Linked DNA regions of Homo sapiens: region 2 is linked to region 1. Evidence: promoter capture Hi-C in human tissues and cell types (Jung and others, 2019). All regions are on one chromosome and are shown on one strand. Each heading gives the region's core, a stretch centred on a gene start or on the middle of the fragment in contact. The rest is flanking DNA. Distances are from core to core; before and after follow the strand shown. Region 1 holds the start of MYO3A (myosin IIIA). Region 2 has its middle 58 kb from the start of MYO3A.

Evidence for each region. The method cuts DNA at HindIII sites, captures the fragments that hold promoters and counts their contacts. A contact is called where the count stands out against the background at its distance.
Region 2: a contact is called between a fragment that was not itself captured here and the fragment with the promoter of MYO3A in region 1, in 1 of the 25 tissues and cell types used here (spleen).

The regions. Positions count from the first base shown.
Region 1 is chr10:25,929,338-25,935,593 of GRCh38, forward strand. It overlaps MYO3A (myosin IIIA), which reads left to right and starts at 4,892. Exons shown (of 35, transcript NM_017433.5): 1 at 4,892-4,991. LOC101929073 (a long non-coding RNA gene) reads right to left here and starts at 4,373. Exons shown (of 4, transcript NR_120650.1): 1 at 4,217-4,373; 2 at 2,971-3,024. The HindIII fragment of the contact is 12,658 bases long and covers 1-6,256 here.
Region 2 is chr10:25,872,954-25,880,097 of GRCh38, forward strand. No RefSeq gene overlaps it. Among named protein-coding and RNA genes, the nearest start is that of MYO3A, 58 kb to the right of the region's middle. RefSeq lists a silencer at 2,712-2,891. The HindIII fragment of the contact is 5,454 bases long and covers 721-6,174 here.

The DNA.
Region 1 (6,256 bases), core at 3,642-6,141:
AATTAATAGAGAAACATCAAGTAGAGGCCACCAATAAGATCTTAAAATGTGGAATATTTTACTAACAACTATGTAAGTCAAATCTTGGACTCCTGCCTGAATAGATGTAAGATGATCATTTTGATGTATTTGAATGAGTAGTATGTATATGTAAATGTTTTGAGGTCCTGATAGCCGCAAAACTGACAATAAAGGCACAACCAGCTAAAAGTGCCCAAAATAATAATCAAGAAAACACCTGAGCCACGTGTTCTAAAAAGTTAATAATGCAAATGATCAGATGATTTAGATAAGGTTAGTAGTGAAAGAATGTGTAGGTTTTAACTGAATATCACTTATATTGGTAATCTTCCATCTTGGAGTATCAGCACATATAGAAGGCAATTTTCCAAACATTTTATAGTTATATGTGGCAAAGACGGGTTTCAAATTCAATGCCTAGAACAGTTGCAGCACCTAGAAGTACCCAGTAAATATTAATTGAGTAATGAATAAGAAATGGAGGGATGGATTCCTTAAAAGTGGTCTACTATATCCATCATACTAACTCCGGCAAATGCATTTTCCTAGGAAAAGAACAGTCAAGCATATCACAACTAAGATTATAATGGTTCAGTAAGTATAAAAGGGAGTGGGAATTCAATGTGGATACAGAAAAGAGAGAAAGTCCTAAGAAAGTCCTTAGGACACAGGAAGGCCGAAGCCCATTCTTGGCCCATCACTGGGAAGCTAGTTCAGTGGGGTTTAGATCATTTGAAGCATCATGTTTTCATCCTTGATAGCTCTGTGAGAATCAAACTCTAATTTGAGCATTTACAGAGGTGGTAACTTTTGGAATTTAGTGTGATAAAGAGGTGATTACTAAGATGGTGGCCTTTGAGAAATCATTGATTCCTCCCTTCAGTTTCCTTATTAGTAAATAGAGACACCTACCTTACAGGTATTTCCATTAAAGAGGGACATTATGCATATAAAATGAAATAATGCACTAAAAGAAAGTTTGCACTTTTAAAAGAGAGAACTTTTAGACCTAAAGGCGATTTACTCTGTTTTCTTGCCTGAGAGGGTCACCACCCAGGCATAATCATAAATGCATGGAGTCTTCCTACAAGGGGCTTGAGTAATATATTTGATTTGACTTATTATAAAGTGGAGAGGGCAAGGCAGTAGAAAAATTAGGAAACATCTGGAATACTCTAGGATGGCGAAGGCCTAAATAAGGCAATATCAGCAGAATAGAGAGATAAGGCTAAATTTGAGAACTAATTTGATTGGGCTGCAGTTCATGTACAAATATCACAAGGTAGGGTTTATGAAGCTCAGAAAGCAGGAATGAGCAATCTTTCTTCCCTTAATTGATCTCCCAGATCACTGGGTCACTTGTGCTGGGCTAACTGATGAGACGCCATTAGTCTACAAGGTGGAAGTTTGCTCCTGGCAAGTGCACTCATTTTTTTTTCTCTCTCTCTCTCTTTTTTTTTTTTTTTTTTGAGATGGAGTCTCGCTTTGTCATCCAGTGCAGAAGCGCGATCTTCGCTCACTGAGATTGCTCCACCTCCCCAGCCTCCTGAGTAGCTGGGATTACAGGCATGAGCCACCTTGCTCGGCCCAGTTCTGCTTTCTCTGAGTCTTTTTGCCAAGAAGTAGATGAGTCGGTTAAAACTGGAATGAGGCTGGACTGTGGCACGCACCCGTAGTCCCAGATACTCAGAAGGTTGAGATGAGAGGATCTCTTGCACCCAGGAGTTTGAGACCAGCCTGAGCAACATAAGGAAAAACAAAAACTTAAAAAAAAAAAAAAAGTTGATATTGCCAGGTGTAAGATGAACAGGACACCATGCTTCTTCCAAGGGCAGGCTGTGCTGTGAAATGTCAACAACAGTCCCCTTTTTTGAGTGACTACTTCTTTCTAACTCATTGGAAAATCTTGCTTCCTATGCTCATAGACTATCAGAAAATTTGATTTTTGAAATTATGTCAGTAAAAATGAAACCTCCCATAATTGCTTGTAGGATCTAACTCACTTTGACAACAGAGACATGGCCCCGATTTACAACTCAAGTACAGAGCTTCAGATAAGGAGTTTCCCAAGACAGCATTCCACATTTATCCAAGGAAACAGAACCCTTGGTCACAGCCCAAACCTCATGTTGACTCCCAGCTCTGCTTTGCTTTGAGCCTATCAAAACTCCACTTCATGGTTCCTCTAGTTTGCAGTATCTCTACTGTAACATTGAGTCAATGAACCTGACTTTGTGGGACTGCAGGTTTTGTCCTTGATGGTCTTAGGCTGGTTGGATTGGACACACTATTCTATTCCGTGTTAATGCCATTCTTTTCATTATTATAGCTTAATTACATGTTTCTTTTTTCATTGCCTTATCAAAAGGTTCTCAGGGCTGGAGGCAGTGGCTCACACCAGTAATCCCAGCACTTTGGGAGGCTGAGGTGGGTGGATCACAAGGTCAGGAGATCGAGACCATCCTGCCCAACATGGTGAAACCCTGTCTCTACTAAAAATACAAAAATTAGCTGGGCATGGTGGCGGTGCCTGTAGTCTCAGCTACTCGGGAGGCTGAGACAGGAGAATCACTTGAACCTGGGAGGCGGAGGTTGCAGTGAGCCGAGATCGTGTTACTGCACTCCAGACTGGCAACAGAGTGAGACTGACTCCGTCTCAAAGAAAAAAAAAAAAAAAAGTTCTCAATTTTTTTTGTCTTAGAACCTTCCTTTATTTACACTCTTAAAAAGTTTTGAGGACTCCAAAGAACTTTTATGTTATAGCAATTAAAACTGAGAAATTTTAAAAATATATTTCACTACTAAGCTCATTACATGTTAACATGAATAGCATATTTTTAAGTGAAAAATACCTGTATTTTCCAAAACCAAAAAAGTTTAATGGTAAGAATGGCATTATTTTATATTCTTGCACATTTCTTTAATGTCTGGCATAACAGAAGACGTTACCTGTTTCTGCATTCAATCTGTTGTGATATCACATATTATGGAGCCACTGGAAAACTTCATCATAAATTCATTTAAAAAATGGGAGAGAAAAAGGAGTGGAAAAAAGTCTTATTATTAAAGTAATTTTGGTCCTGTGAACCTCCCGAAATGGTTTCAGAGACCGCCCCCTGACCCCCAACAAATTTCCCCTAGACCACACTCTGAGAACCACTGGACTTAGCTCTTCTAGCTTCTGTAGTTTTCATATGAATTCTAGAATATATTTGTCTCTTAATTTGGGAGGTAGTAATTATGTGTTTAACATCTTGTCTTCTAACTTAGGATTCCAGTGTCTTTCCAATTATAAATAGTCTGTCAACAATCCTGCATTTTTAAATTTTTTCCCACTTTTCTCCTATATTTCTCATTTTTTATCATTCTTAGTTATTTCATGTTCTTTCATGCTTCTATTGTGAATGGGATCTATTTTTCTATTGTATTTTAATTGGGTGTTGTTTGTCTCTATTGAGATTGTGACTTTATTTTGCATGTGAGCACTCAGTTGCTCTAATTCTTAAAATCTCCCAGGTATGTCCAAATGGCCATAATTATGTTGAATAATATATTTGCTGTGATCTGTTTTTGATGAGATAACTTCTTGATTTGAAGCTGTTCATATATGTTAGGCTTTTGATTCAATATAATCCCTATTACAAGTCCACTATTCAATTTCTAATTTTTTTTTTTTTTTTTTTCGAGACGGAGTCTCGCTCTATCGCCCAGGCTGGAGTGCAGTGACGTGATCTCGGCTCCGTCACTGCAAACTCTGCCTTCTGGGTTCACGCCATTCACCTGCCTCAGCCTCCCAAGTAGCTGGGACTACAGGGGCCTGCCACCATGCCCGGCTAATTTTTTTGTATTTTTTAGTAGAGACGGGGTTTCACTGTGTTAGCCAGGATGGTCTCGATCTCCTGACCTTGTGATCCGGCCGCCTCGGCCTCCCAAAGTGCTGGGATTACAGGCGTGAGCCACCGCGCCCGGCCCAATTTCTAAATTTTAAAGCTACTTTAAGAGGAAGGGTCTTGAATATACTGAATGACCTTTTGAAACAGATTTTTAACATCACATTTTTTCCTTAAGATATGCATTGATTAGGATTAGATGACCTCTCTTTGGTCTCTTCTATAATTCTCATTTAGATAACATGAACGACAGACCCATTGAGATAATTAACAGAATCAAAGGATGTTTTGGTTGTAGTTCTCACCTGTTCAATGGATGAAGGTATAGCAATACCCAATATGTCCCTAGAGACTGTTCAAGAGAATCTGGCCATCAGGGTCCCCCCAGGTGAGCCCTGTGTGACAGGAGACCACAGAAGGTCTGGAAAGGATTGCAAAGGACCAAGTAGAGGGTTGGTGACTAACGGGCTGCCTCCCGAGGGTAGAAGTTCTTGCCTTTAACTTCAGCCCCAGCCCCAAACTCCTTAGCAGTCTGCAAAAGGGAACTGGACCCTGGGAGCGATCTCATTAGCCACTCACTATCCCTCTTGGACCTGAAACCCATTACATTTTCCGGGTCCGAGACCCTCGTAGTGTGGGGAATTTCCTGGGAGGAAGATACTACGCGGGGCCGGGAGCAGAATTTGCTCCAGGCACTGGGCCAGTCCATGAGGGCTCCAGGATCCAGGGGCCCCACTCCCTTCTCGCCGGGCTCCGGGCCAAGGAAGCGCGGCCGGAGTCCCGGGAAGCCCCTCGGCAGCCAGCCAAGGGCCCTGCGAGGATGTGGATGGCGCGGATGGCGCGGCCTCCACCTGCGGGCAGTGGAGAGAGCGGCGAGAGGAAGAATATTCCCCGCGAGCCGGGATAAGGGGCCCCTTCGGCTCGGTTGACCCAGGTCAGATCCTCCCGCCGACCTTCGGCCCGCCCTCTACAGGCGGCCCAGTTCTTCCCCTGCTCGGCTGCCCCTGCCCGCCCCTCGAGGGAGCGCCCGTAGCCAGCGCCCCCGTAAAGAAATAAGGAGGCGCCCGGCTTCCCGCCCAGGTACGTGTCGGGACAGCGCAGGGGACTGGCTTGGGGCGGCGGTGGGTAGCGGCGCCCGCGCGGCGCTGGAAACGGCCCCGCTTCCTTGGACCCCGGGGCTTGCAGGGCGGGCCCGGGGCTCTCTGAGCGCGAGGCTGCCGCGACCGCCCGCCCGCCCAGGTCAGATCCGGAGGACCTGTGTGTTTGTCGGGGCCTGGGGTGAGAGAGGGGACTCGAGGGGAGAAGTAGAGCGGGAAACCAAGAGGGGGAATGTGAGGCTTGAACGAGCTGGATGGGAGAGCTCGAGGGGAGGAGAGGGATGAACTTGAGGGGGAAACGGGGGCGGGGGTGAACTCGAGGGGGAGCCAGGAGGAGGGAACGGGAAGGGTGAACCTGAGGGGTGGACTTGAGGGAAGATCTTGTGGGTGAACCCGAGGAGGGAACGCGAGGGGATAGTGAGGGGGGATCTCGAGGAGGGAACGTGAGGAATGAACTTGAGGAGGGAACGGGAGGGGTGAACGTGAAGTGGAAACAGGAGGAGGGAACGGGAAGGGTGGCGTAAGGGGTGAAGGAAGATCTTTAGGGGTGAACTTGGGAAGGAAACGTAAGGGGAGGACCTCGAAGAGTAACGAGGGGCGAGAACTGAGGGGGCCCTGCAGGGAGACTGGAGGGAGGAGGCGCCGAGTCTGGCGGGTGTCGCCTCGGAGACCTGTGGCGCGCGCGGGCTTTGCGGCGCCGCCCACAGGTGGCGCTGGGTCGGCCCGTCCCTGAGGGAACTGCGTTCCGGGTGATTTCTCAGAACAAGCAGGTCGGTGGAGCTGGGCTCCCTGCAACCCCAAATGCATCCGTAAAGGAGTTTTAATTTTAAGGAGAAAGAGCAGACAAGAAAAGTATGATCATTATTGAGAAATAGAGAAACCTACCAGGAAAGGATGTCCTTTCAAGTCTGCTCACCAACAGCTCTGTTCTGTTCTCCAAGTAGTTGCTAACTCGCACCTTGCTACTATCCCCCTTCCAGAAAAAAAATTTTATTATTGTTAGAATGGAAATTGGCCATAAGCCTTGAAATGACTGTTGTAATGCCACTGAACCCTACACACTAAGCGTTTTTGAAAACTCAAAAGAATCTTCATTTCTGGTTGTTTCTAGTTTTCTTGGTGAATTAACTAATTGTACAGGTGCACTTAAACCTTCTTAAGCATTTTTATAATTCAGACGGATCTGGTAGCTTGAGAGTTGTTTAATGCCAGCATATGAAATGAGGGGCTTTAAGTTCCTTGTTCATT
Region 2 (7,144 bases), core at 2,198-4,697, 58 kb before region 1:
TGGAACATAAAATAAAAGTTGAAAAATAAAATAAAATAAAATAAATCTTCCTGCAAAGGAAAACACAGCAGTTTTGCTGAGTCCCTTTAAAAAAAAACAAAAAACAAAAAAAACAAACAAAAAAAACCCAAACTTGTTTTCTAGTAGTCAATCAATTACCAATTTTGGGTGCAGCTGGTGTACCAAAAGTAGGAAAACCAGTTTGCCTCCATATGCAGTTGATGCTTTTACTATCTAAAGCTGACAAGTACTGACCCTGCTAGTAAATTATCTCTCTGCATAAGAACCATAGCTATATTTTCCTAAAAATGAAGATATTATTCATGAAAGGTGAAAATGTAGTTGCTAAGCACATGTGTTCTAGATTTAGATGTCTTGTCAAAACCCTTAGCTCTATCATTTGTTAGCCTGTTTGACCTTAGACAAATTATATGACCTCACTCTACCTCATCTGTAGATTAGGAGTAGTAACAGATTTTGCCCGTAAAATTAAATGAGATACTACATTTGAAGTGCTTACTTACCACACTGCTTGGCCACAGCAAACAGTCAATTAAAGTTTATTATTATTATTGTTTTAGAAGACAAGTCTCCAGCTTTTAAATTGGTAATACATAGAATTCCTAGGCAAAATTATTATTAATAAAATAGTATTATTTTATTATAAAATTTGTGACATTATTTTATTATAAAAGTTCAGGATGGAAAGCCTTCTCAAACATTTGTTTTATTGTGGATTCTTCTAGAAGTAGAATTGTTCAAACCTGGGCATTCGGATGGTAGTTTAAGGTGGCTGAAATGAAGGTCTAGTTATGCCTTGTCTTACAAATTTCAGGCTAAAACTATTTTGCCCCTGGCAATGAAATAGAACCATGGAAAATCTATTAATTGACCACTTATCTGTACAATTAGAAAAATTCAGAACTGTCTGGAAACGATCTTGGCCCAAATTTTGGTTCCTCTCTCAGCTCACCTCAGAACACTAGCATGGATTCTGGTTACGAAAGAGCCCCTCTTGGCTCCTCAGTTTCCATATTTGGATCTTAACCAACCCTTAGTTGATCATGATTAAGAAAGATAATTTGGAACCAGATGCAGTGGGTCATGCCTGTAATCCCAGTGCTTTGGAAGGCCAAGGAGGGAGGATTGCTTGAGAACAGCCTGGGCAACATAGTGAGACCCAGTCTCTACAAAAAAAAAAGAATTAAAAAATTAGCCAGGCATGAGCCTGTAGTCCTAACTACTTGGGAGGCTGAGGTGAGAGGTTCACTTGAGCCTAGGAGTTTGACGTTGCTGGCAGTGAGCTATGATGGCACACTTCAGCCTGGCAGACAGACCAAGACCCTGTCAAGAAAAAGAAAAAGAGAAGAGAAGAAGAGAGGAGGGAAAGGAAAGGAAAGGAAAGGAAAGGAAGGGAAGGGAAGGGAAGGGAAGGGAAGGGAAGGGAAGGGAAGGGAAGGGAAGGGAAGGGAAGGGAAGGGAAGGGAAGGGAAGGGAAGGGAAGGGAAGGGAAGGGAAGGGAAGGGAAGGGAAGGGAAGGGAAGGGAAGGGAAGGGAAGGGAAGGGAAGGGAAGGGAAGGGAAGGGAAGGGAAGGGGGAAGGGAGGGGAAGGATAGGGAAGGGAAGGGAAGGGAAGGGATGGGAAGGGAAGGGAGAAGGAAGGTGAGTTGGTTCTCACCTATAAGCAAAGAACTAGCTCTTGTCCAGAAGCTTCCTCGAGAACACAACCTAGTGTTCACTGCCCTTCAAATAACTAAACACAGTGTGCAAGGTGGAATGCTTACATATGTCTCTGATGCAGAAGTTTAGCAAAGAGGAAGATACCTATAATTCGACTCTTCCAGAGAGTATTGTTTAGACAAACTGTAGATTATTGTAATGTCATAAACCTATACAAGAGCCTTATAAGAAAAGGCCACAAATGCATTATGATGACATGATTTATGTTATACCTTGTCCTATGAGGAATCCTGGAGAAATTCTTGTCTGACCCTAGAATCAAAAAGACTTGGAATTTTACTGAGCTGTTGTATTTGCTTTTAATTTCATGAACACTCTGAGTCAGATCTGTTCTGGTTTCCTTTTTGACCCTGCCTGGGAACGCTGTAGTGGGCTTTCAGCTGTCCACAAATTTCTGCCTCCTCTCCTTACACATGGAAGACCTGACTTTTCCCCTCTCTTGTGGGTAGAGACATGAGGCAAGTTCTGGCCAATGAGAGTGAGTAGAAATGATGTGATCAGAGCATTTAATTGCTAATGCAAGATTTTTCAAAGCTCTTCCCCTCTGCCATGGTGGCAGGCAGTGTGAGTGACAATGGCTGCTCCATTCGCTTAGAAACCAAAAATAAGCCTGAGATCTGTAACGAAAGAGAAATTAAAGCACTGTTGTCAAAAACTCCTGAGATTTGGGAGCTGTCTTTACCATAGTAGAACCTGGTGCATCCTGATTAATACACAGCTAAATATATCATCGATGGGAGGATGGTCAGTTGTTATTTTACATGTATTTTGATTTAATTTCTTGATCACTTTGCCTCACCCTTGTTATCTTTTCTCATCCAATGCAGCCTAATGTTTTCAATTTTGTCATATTTTATGAGTTCTTGTAAGTCAACTTTGAGAATAGATGGGAAATGATTAAGTTAACTTAACGAATTTATGTGAACCCTGGAGAAACACCTCAGGGTGAGTTGGCTATGCAGGATAAACAGATTTTAAGTACAGCTGCTCTGGAAATTGTTTTCTTAACAGAGAAAATACCTAAGCTTAGGACTAGTAGCTGCATTTCCAGAGGGATGCACTAGAGGGCGCGTGGAGCTTGGTGTGCTCGACAGTCACGGTACCCTTTGGCCTTCTTGGGTACACTGAGAAGAGATATTGTCAAGGGATTATGGCGGGAGTTTTTGTTTGCATGATTTCCTATATTCGAAATTTCAGAAACTGGTATTGATTTACTTTCTTTTTATGCAAAATTGACCCTAAGAAAAATGAGGTTATAAAAATGTTCACTTGTCTGTAACATTATTTTATTATAAAATGTTAGAATTGAAGAGCATCTTAATGGAGGTTTATGGAGTCTTTCTTCACATCAGGAATTATTTTTCAATGCAGAATTCCACCCAAACTTATTCAATGTTCTGCTAATTTTCTGACCTCTTCCCTCAAAATTAACATGTCCTAGCTTCTATTTCCTAGGAGGGGCTTATTAAGTGGCCAGTTTGTTAATCTGGTTATCTAATTTGAAACAAAATGTTAATGGCTAACAATACCTTAGCTATTAACCATACCTACCTGTCCAGATAGAATTGTTTTTAACTGGCTGTAACATCAACATAAAAGGGAACAACATGGGTAAGTGTGGGAGTGGATTCCAGGTGTCAGTTTCATAAGCAACCTCCTGTATGATATTCATCCAAGACAACAGCTTTATTCTCAGGAGAATTACTACTCATATAATAAGTTAAATCTGGTATGATATTCATCCAAGACAACAGCTTTATTCTCAGGAGAATTACTACTCATATGCTAAGTTAAAATGTCATTAAATATTTTATAGAGGAATTTTGTTGTTCGGATTCCCTGTTTGAGGTTAATGCTACTTACTGCTTCTGGAGTTTTGGTAGGTTATAAGCTGTTTCTGTGGTTGTTCAGATCTTTGGTAATAGTAACAGGAATTGGATACAGGGTTGAAATGCATTTGTTAATCTCTAAACATTCTTTTAGTCAATAGCTTTAGCCTCCTTTCTTTTGAGGAAAAGTAAGGATAAATGAAAGAACACAAACTTTGGAGTCAAATAAATCTGGAGTTGGCCGGGTGCGGTGGCTCACGCCTGTAATGCCAGCACTTTGGGAGGCCGAGGTGGGCGGATCACGAGGTCAGGAAATCGAGACGATCCTGGCTAACACGATGAAACCCTGTCTCTAATAAAAATACAGAAAATTAGCTGGGCGTGGTGACGGGTGCCTGTAGCCCCAGCTACTCGAGAGGCTGAGGCAGGAGAATGGCGTGAACCCAGGAGGCGGAGCTTGCAGTGAGCCGAGATCGCGCCACTGCACTCCAGCCTGGGCGACAGAGCGAGACTCCGTCTCAAAAATAAATAAATAAATAAATAAATAAATAAATAAATAAATAAATAAATAAATAAATCTGGAGTTAGATACAAACTATCATCATATCCCAAGTTTTAAATTCCTCAACTGTAAAATGGGGATAAAAAACACATCTCAAAGATTTGGGGGAAGACTTATATCTTATGAAAAGTCCTTGAAATGTCTCAAAAAAATCTGTTTTCCATCAAATCTTTTGTGAAATATGAAACTCATTAATAAAATCAATGTATTTTAATTGCATTTCTGATATACAGAATTGAAATCACATTTCTAGTTAATGTTGGCAAAGTGAGGCAGCTGATAGATGGTTCTAATAATGAGATCCCCAAGGTGGACAGAGTGGACTTGGGTTTGGTGTTAGAACCCAGTGAACAATCAAATTGTGGAAGGTCCTGGCATCCCAGTCTCCCAGTGGGAGTGAGTCAATAGTGAGCCCTTTGACTGGCAGCCTCAGCCTCCCACATGAGCCTTTATTTCTGTCTCAGCTCCATCTGACAAACTCTCATGATTCCACATGAAGAGCAAGTGAAAATTTACACTAAGACAGTCAATAGAGTTTAAATCTTTGTGTTGCTTAGCCACAAGGTTCTTTTTTAAAAATTAGTCTTTTCAATAGAATAGTTAACTGCTCTGAAGGAATGTTTAGTTTTAGGGACATCTCCCAGGTCATGAATTATTATCTCAGTATCTGCTAAAATAACTGTATGCTAAATTAAATTCCATTATTGTAAACTGTCATTTCAAAGTAACTAGTTAAGTGCAACATTTTTTTTTAAACCAGTTAGAATATGTAGACCAGGCTTGGAGGCTCATGCCTATAGTCTTGGCTGCTCGGGAGGCTGAAGCATAAGAGTCCCTTGAGCCCAGGAGCTCAAGATTGCAGTGAGCCATGATCACACCACTGCACTCCAGCCCGGACAACAGTGAGACCCTGTGTCTAAAATAAATAAATACATAAGAATATGAGCCAGAGCCAATAATAGAGATATATACATATATATGAAGAAAAGTTTCTATTTTTAGTGTCTGCTGTGGCAGGGCTCCCCAACCCCCAGGGCACAGATCCGTCCTGATCTGTGGCATATTAGGAACCAGGCTGCACAGCAGGAGGTTAGGGTGGGCAAGTGAGCAAAACTTCCTCTATATTTAGAGATGCTTCCCATCACTCACAGTACCACCTGAGCCCTACCTCCTGTCAGATCAGCAGCAGCATTAGAGTCTCATAGGAGCGTGAACCCTGTTGAGAACCATGTGTGCAAGGGATTTAGTTTGTACAATCTTTAAGGGAATCTAATGCCTGATGATCTGTCACTGACCCTATCACCTCCAGATGGGATAGTCTAGTTGCAGGAAAACAAGTTCAGGGTTCCCACTGATTCTACATTACGGTGAATTATATAATTATTGTATTATATGCTACAATGTAATAATAATAGAAATAAAGTGTACAATAAATGTAATGCACTTCGATCATCCCCAAACCATCCCCCCACCACCCACCCTTGTCTGGAAAAATTGTCTTCCATGAACCCAGTCCCTGGTGCCAAAAAGGTTGAGGACTGCTGTGCTATAGAATGTGCCTTTCAGAAAAAGTTATTTTCCTAGAAAATGATCACTGAAATGTCAACAATTCTAATAACAATCTAAACCACTCTTATCTCCAGAGTGAACACAAAGGGAAATATAAAATTCCATGAAATCCTTGATTCTTTACACTTAATTTTTGTGGAGTCTTGGCTTGATGCTTGATGCTCTTTGCTATAAATCTTTTATGTTTTCATTCATTTCTTGGAGCATGCACTGATTAGATTGAGGAAGTGGGGAACACATTCTCCCTTTGGTTTCTGCCGTGGGTCTCAAAATCATTCTGAGAGGGGAAGAATCTTTTTTATCACTCTCTCTTTAGAGGAACAAGCAGCTCTGCTCAAAGGATTAAATTCCACAACTGCCTTATTATGATACCTTGTTTGAACCAGGGATGGTGGTCAAAACTGATCAAAATGCAATAGTTAACGTGTAATCCCTTGGGTCCCACGGTAACATGTAATTTCATGCATTTCAAATTTAGTTAAGTTTTTACAGCTAAATTTTGAGCTTTTTTATGCTAACTTGTATCATTTTGAATCACATATATATTATTAAGTAAGGTTAAAGGAATCTATGTCATGTAGTAATTCACTCTGTTTTTTGTTGTTGTTGTCGTTGTTTTGCTTGTTTGTTTGTTTTTGAGATGGAGTCTCTGTTGCCCAGGCTGGAGTGCAGTGGCAAGATCACAGCTCACTGCAACTTTTGCCTCCCGGTTTCAAGCGATTCTCCTGCCTCAGGCTCCCAAGAGGACGCTTCTCCACACCCAGCTAATTTTTTGTATTTTTAGTAGAGACAGGTTTCACCATGTTGGCCAGGCTGGCCTCAAACTCCTGACCTCAGGTGATCTGCCTGTCTTGGCCTCCCAAAGTGCTGGGATAATAGGCATGAGCCACCATTCCCGGCCAATTCATCCAGTTTTGATAGTTTATAATCCTTCATTTCACTGAGGAACTAGAAAACTGAATTCCTCTTTATTCTAATGACAGACTTCTCGGACCTCACTTTCAGTCCTCTCTGCATTCTTTCTCCCTCTGCCTTTCCTCTCCTCCACACCTCCTCTGGATATCTCATTCCTTTGTCCTAACTCTGACAATTAGCAGAAATTGCATGAAAACCCTAGTATTTATTTATTTATTTATTGTTTTGGAGAGACGGTCTGTCTCCGTCACCCAGGCTGGAGTACAGTGGCATGATCTCGGCTCACTGCAACCTCTGCCTCCTGGAAAACCCTTGTTATTTTTAACAAAGGATAAGCCAGACAATACTAGGAATGAGAGGCAGATCCCTGAAGAAAGGGGGGTGCAGTTCTGGGAGAGGGAGAGGTATTGGCAGTTAAGTCTTGACCAGGCCAGAGAGCAGCATCAGCTGGAGGAAGGGTGAGTCCAACAGCCAAATGGAAATGAGTGCACTGAGGAATTGGAAGAGGAAGAGCAAAGTTCAGTGAGAA